2 separate regions of the Homo sapiens genome follow, and region 1 is linked to region 2. Evidence: promoter capture Hi-C in 16 types of primary human blood cells and fetal thymus (Javierre and others, 2016). All regions are on one chromosome and are shown on one strand. The core of a region is centred on a gene start or on the middle of the fragment in contact, and the rest is flanking DNA. Distances in the headings are between cores, read along the strand shown. Region 1 overlaps TNRC6C (trinucleotide repeat containing adaptor 6C). Region 2 holds the start of SEPTIN9 (septin 9).

Region 1 (3,031 bases), core at 84-2,583, 740 kb after region 2:
CTATCTTAATATTTCTTAAATAAAACAAATGATTTGTTGAAAAATCATAAAGAAACTAAAGTTCCCATTGCCTTCCTGTATTCTCCTGCTGCATGAAAATGCTGATATGCAAAAGGGTAGGTTCCCATGTGAGTCCTTATCTGTGAGGTATGGCCCTAGAGTCAGGTCTTTTTGAAGAAGGGGAATGTCAAGATTGCTTTGATGCCCTGGTTTTTTAGACAGTAATAGACCCATAAGTGAGGATCTGAAAAGAGTTTATGGCTAGACAAAAAAAGAAAATGCCCATTTAATTTATCTGTGTTACAAGAATAGATCCAGATTTTGAGATCTTCCACTTATCCCTTCAGATTATTAAGTGGCTGCTTGATTCAAAGATCCAAAAATTACTGGCTTAAGTCAGAAGGTTTATCACTGCATAATATAAAAGAGACCCAGAGGTGTACAGCTCAACTGGGTCAGAATTCCGCATTCCTCTGTCTGTTGCTTTGCTGAGTGAGGCTTCTCTTCCCTTTTCTTAGGGTCCAGGATGACCTGTAGACTACCAGCCATAGCATTAGCATTGCAAGCTGGAAATATCACTGTGAGAACAAGTACGTGGGTAAACTGAGTGTGCCATGCTTGCATTATACTCCGGGACCCTTGGTCTTTTTATTAATTGAATACATGCTTTGTGGCATTTTTTTCTGTTTGTAAAATAATGTGCTAGTACTTTAGTGTAGAGTAAATAGTTGTAAGGGAAATTCTCCCACCTGAAAAAGCTTGTGATCTGTCACAACTTGTAGTTTCTCAATCTCTGTTTCACTTTCAGTCTTTATGAAAACAGGTAATTATTTAGCGGTTTCTGAGAAACTAGCTTAAACTTTATCCTTTCCAATAATACAATGCCATTTCTAGACCAGCACCATTCAAAAGAAATAATGGAAGCCACAAATGTGAGCCACATGAATCATTTTAAATAGGCTAGTTGCATCATCTAAAAAGTAACAGGCGGAATTACTTTTAATAATGTTTAACTTGATATATCCAAAATATCGCCATTTCAATGTGAAAGCAACAGAAAAATTGTTAATGAGGTATTTCTCTTTTTTTTGGTGCTAAGTCTTTAGAATCCAGTATATGTTTTAATACTAAGTACATCTCAATTTAGACCTCAAGGCTCAATAGCCACACTTGGCCAGTGGCTGCTGTACTGGGCAGCACATGGTCATCCTTCCCCTCTACACTTGTCTGAGATTTCCAGTCAATTGCACAAGCTTTAAATACTCTGTGTGTCTTCTTTATTTCCCCAGTTCATTGTTGATTCACTTAAGTGAGAAACCTAAGTGCTCCAGTGCCTTCCTACGGCAACCAACACAGTCCTGGACTCAGACCAGGAAATTCTTGTTTGACTTTTGGATGTGTTTAGTAGGAAAGAAAGCTTCCTTCAGGCAGCACTGTCCAGTAGGTAGCTGAAGAAGGAGGCTGGACTTGGAGCTCGAGGGCAACACTGGGACAGTACTCAGGCATCAGTAGCACAGAAATGATGGTCAGAATGGTGAGCATGGACAACCTCTCCAGAGAGTCCAGGGCTGGAGAATGAGTACAAAGACTTGAAGTCCATTAGCAGTGAGAGGGCCAGCAGAGCACAAAGGCGTCTCTGAGGGGCACAGGAGGGGCGTGGGCCACGCATTCAGACAAGCCTGATGTGCTTGTGCTCGTTCACTGGTCCTGTTGTGCTCATAGCTCAAGGCTGTTATAAAGTAAAAGCACCTGCGTTTCTAAGAGAGTGATTTCATTTCTCCATACTTAATATGTTCCTGTTTCTTCTTGATAAATAGCATCATTTTAACTTTTCATTCAGTAATCATAAAAAAGATTATGGAGAGGAGACATGGAATAGGTTATTTATTTTTTTATTTTTATTTTCTTGAGATAGAGTCTCACTCTGTCACCCAGGCTGGAGTGCGATGGCGCAGTCTCGGCTCACTGCAACCTCTGCCTCCCTGGCTCAAGTCATTATTCTGCCTCAGCCTCCCAAGTAGCTGGAATTACAGGGGTATGCCACCATGCCCAGCTAATTTTGGTATTTTTAGTAGAGATGGGGTTTCACCATGTTGGCCAAGCTGGTCTTGAACTCCTGACTTCAGGTGATCTGCCTGCCTCGGCCTCCCAAAGTGCTGGGATTAAAGGTGTGAGCCACCATGCCTGGTCTATTTATTTATAATTTTTTAATTAAAATAAAACAATACCTACATAAGACTTTGGGATATATTACCAGGATTTTTCCTCTGGAAGGTTTCTATGTCTGATAGTCTAATATTACAAGTAGTTGGAACTCTATTAGTATCTGGCTCTTTTCCTGTAGGTCTAGCCTTTGGGCCAAAAAGATGCCCAGAGGCAGTGAGACTCTCACCAAGGTCATTCCCAGAATTTTAGACTTTGCTGGCCATATATGGTCTCTGTCATATATTTGTCTTTGAGTTTTTCCCCCATCCTTTAAAAATGTAAGGGGCATTCTTACTTCACCTGCCAGTCCTGCCCTACTCACATAACAGTTATTCAAGGTGGAAAGGGAAGACTGGTTAGGAATACTTTGACTCTTTAAAAATGAGTCTGTCTTAGATATAAGATTGACTACACATAATGCATCAGGCAGGTAGCACACAGGAAACCATATTCCATATCCAAATGTCTTAGAATTTGGTGGTTTATATTGAAAAATGGACTGATAACATTCATCTATGATTTGCTTACTTCTTCCTTTCTGTAGCATGAACTCCTTTTCCTCTGAAGGTTTTGAAGAAAAACAACCCTGAATTTGTCCTTCAGTCATTTAAGAAAGATTAACAGCAGCATGGTGGAAAAGCATGGTCAGAGATGTGAGTTCTAGTCCCAGTGGTAGCTGGGTCAGTCATCTCAGCCATATCATCTCGGTTGCCTGAGTCTGTGCAGATGAGGGTGGGACTGGATGATTTCTAAGGTTCCTGTCAGCTCAAATTCTTTGCTTCTGAGTCCTTGCCTAATTGTTTCCATCAGGTTTTGAGTTCTGGTG
Region 2 (3,008 bases), core at 35-2,534:
GAGGATTTTTCGGGGCTGTTAGTGACACTTTCAGCCTCCTGTGCATTTTTGGGAGGGCTGCAGGAGAAGGCAATGCTGCGCCCCTACCCAGAACTAGCGAGCGCTTCCCAACTGGCCTCCCGCCTTCCTCTCGTCCTCTACGGCCTCCATTGGCAGCTGTGCAAGGGCCCGGCCCTGCCTCTGTCTCTCCACACTCGCTGTGATACCTCAGGCCTCCCAGGCTCCGCCACGCCCTTCCCTCTTTCGGGAACAGCTGCCTTCCATCACCTTGGCTGCCTGGCTAATTCCTGCTCATTCCTTAAAACCCTGTTTTGATTTCGCCTCAATAAAACTCTGACACCACCCTCCAGTCATAATTAGTCACTTCTTCCTCTGTACGTTGGAAACACCGCTTTATCGTGGAGACTTTAAGGATATCCAAGTAGAGAGAATTCTTCCGTGCAAGTTTTGCATCCTCTCACCACTGCCTGCGTTACCCGAGTTGTAAAGGGCGGCTCCCTGTGTCTGCCCCGCTGCACCGATACACCGAGCTGCGCACGGTGCCCAGCGCAGGGAGAACAAATGATCATCTGTCCAACGCGCCCATTTACAGGTGAGGAAACTAAGGCTCCAACTCAATCGACGCACTCTGCCCTTTTGATTACCAGAAAAGTAGCAGGACAGGTGTCCTGTCCCGCCCTACCCCGGCCCACTAAGCCGGCACCCCGGCTCCGACCCCCGGCTGTGCCCGGCGCCGCCGCGGTGCCCGGCGCCGCCGCCTCGCCCGGCGGGGCCGCCCGGAGCGCCCGCACCTCCGCCCGCTTCCACCTGGCCGGGCCCGCCCCGCCCGGACTCGGGACTGGGAAGTGCGGCGACTCCCGGAACCAGCCATTGGCGCCAGCGCGGGGAGCTGGGGGTGCAGAGCTGCGGGCGCGGCGGGCCACGCAGGCGGCCCCCACCCCCGGCCTGGCCTGGTCTGGTCTGGTCTGCGCTGCCGCGCGGGGGCGCCCCCTCCCAGGCCCGGCGCCCGCCAGCCCCGCTCCGCCAGGTGCAGCGCAGCGCAGGGGTGGGCGGGGGTGGGGCTCGGCGCGCACGTTCACGGGGCGGGGAGGGGGCGGGTCAGGGGCGGGACCACAGCCGGCTGGGCCGGGGTTCTATGCGCATCTCCGGGGAGGGGCGGGGCGGGGGCGGGGCCGGGGCGGGGCCCGGTCGGTGCACTCCAGACGGCGGGCCGCCCCCTCTTCCCGCCTTCCTACTACCGGCCCAGGATTAGCGCCCTGGGAGCGCGCGCCCCGCTGCCTCGCCGCCACACTTTCCTGGGAGCGGCGGCCACGGAGGCACCATGAAGAAGTCTTACTCAGGTGGGCTTCGCGCCCGGGGTGGGGAGGGGTCGGTGTCCCGGGACCAGCGCTGCTCACCTGAGTGCCTGCGGCCGGGAGTGGCGAGGCGCCCCCGGAGCTGAGCGAGTCCCCGCGGCGGGCACACTGCAGGTCGAGTTCCTCCCAGGACAGGGCCGCTGTCGGGCCGCTTTCGACCTGAGCCGACCGTCCCCTGCGCTGTCTCCAGCCCTTGCTCGAGTGTCGGAGGGGCTGCCCTGGGGGACGCTCCCTCTTCCTCGCCCCTTGCACCCTCGCAGGAATCGCTGACTTTCCAGGTCGGCCGGGTGCTTTGGGTCCCTGTGCGTCTGTGTGGGTGAATGGGGTCGGGGCTAGGTGGAGGGGTGTCCTTGGGTTCAGCCTCTAGGGCTGGTGGTCCAGGCCGCAGCATCCTTTCTTCGGATTCTCTTCGGTTTCTCCTCTACTTAGTGGGGCACGGGACGGCCTCCAGATGGGACCGTCCAGCAGCGCCCAAACTTGGCGACTCGGGTTCACGTTTTGCGCTCAGGACGCCGCCCGCGGCTGACATCCTCACTCCACCCTAGCAGGGCCCGCCTTAAGTAGGCGAAGGGGGCCTGACTTGGGCCTCACCATGAGCCGGTTCAGGAGCTTTCATTTCATAAGAGGCTCCCGCTCTGGCACTCTGAAGTTCCATTTCACAGATGGGCACACCGAGGCCACAAGGGCAGGTTAAGAGAAATCCAGATCTTCATTATTTGTCTTTTCCTTCCTTTTTTTTTTCCTTTGTGGTTTTCTCCAAAGGATCCAGGCAGGCAGGATCCTTTGTCCTCCTCAGTCCTCAAATTATAAATAGCGTCTCCTCTTCTAAATCTAGAAACCGTTTGTTTAATGTCCCTCCTTTAATTCATTCAGATAGAAAGGTACCTGCCAAGGATCCATGAATTAATTTTTATTGATAGGAGAACAGAATCATGGGCCTTAGTTGGAGGTGAAGGAGTCATCGGGGCCATCCCCCTGCCTTTGGGCCATTGTCGGTTTCCTCTGGCTTTCCATATTTAGGAACCAAAATGAGTGATAAAGTACCTTGTCTCAAAGAGGATTACTCAGAACTTCCCCGAAAATACCCTTCTGGGTCAGTAGCTTAGAATTTCAACTTTCACCCGGTTGTTGCGAACAAGATGGCCCTCTACGCACCCGGAGCACAGCTCTGTCAGGAGCGTGGGTGGGTTGGTGTGCTGGTGGGCGGGAGCGGGCTTCCAGGTGGCACATGCTTGGTTTTGGCACCGGGGCTTCCTCCCCAACATGCTCCAAATACTTGAGATTGTTGTGGGGATCGCGCGGTGCATGGCCCTTTCCAGGGGATCTCTAGCCCGCCCAGGGAGGGCCCTTTGCCCTTGGTTTCTTACACTTTACCTCCCACTGGTGGGTCCAGACAGTGGGGGTGACCGGGGTCCTCCCAGGTCGTGGGTCCTGGGTTTTTTCTGCGGAGACCCTCCTGCACAGATGCCGGAAGGGCCCTGAGGCAGGCTTGGAGTCTCTGCACCTGCGGCTTACTGGGAGGTGGGGAGACCATCACTTGTCCTTTTCTCCTCTCCTCCACACACACCTACCCCACCCCTCACTGGGTTTCTTTTTTTTTTTTTTTTTTAAAAAAAAGGACAGAACCTTTTGCAGTAGGTGGAAGTAGAGTTT

Evidence for each region. Contacts are between HindIII fragments. The CHiCAGO score rates a contact against its expected background, and 5 or more counts as called.
Region 1: a contact is called between a fragment that was not itself captured here and the fragment with the promoter of SEPTIN9 in region 2, in 4 of 17 cell types (total CD4 T cells, total B cells, total CD8 T cells and 1 more). The highest score is 7.0, in total CD4 T cells.

What each region holds. Positions count from the first base shown.
Region 1 is chr17:78,019,680-78,022,710 of GRCh38, forward strand. The region is part of intron 3 of TNRC6C (trinucleotide repeat containing adaptor 6C); the gene reads left to right. Among named protein-coding and RNA genes, the nearest start is that of TNRC6C, 62 kb to the left of the region's middle. The HindIII fragment of the contact is 164 bases long and covers 1,252-1,415 here.
Region 2 is chr17:77,280,215-77,283,222 of GRCh38, forward strand. SEPTIN9 (septin 9) reads left to right here and starts at 1,285. Exons shown (of 12, transcript NM_001113491.2): 1 at 1,285-1,340. The coding sequence starts at 1,322. SEPTIN9-DT (SEPTIN9 divergent transcript) reads right to left here and starts at 1,683. Exons shown (of 3, transcript NR_136503.1): 1 at 1,398-1,683. RefSeq lists an enhancer at 1-14 and a silencer at 1,616-1,779. The HindIII fragment of the contact is 6,769 bases long and covers 1-3,008 here.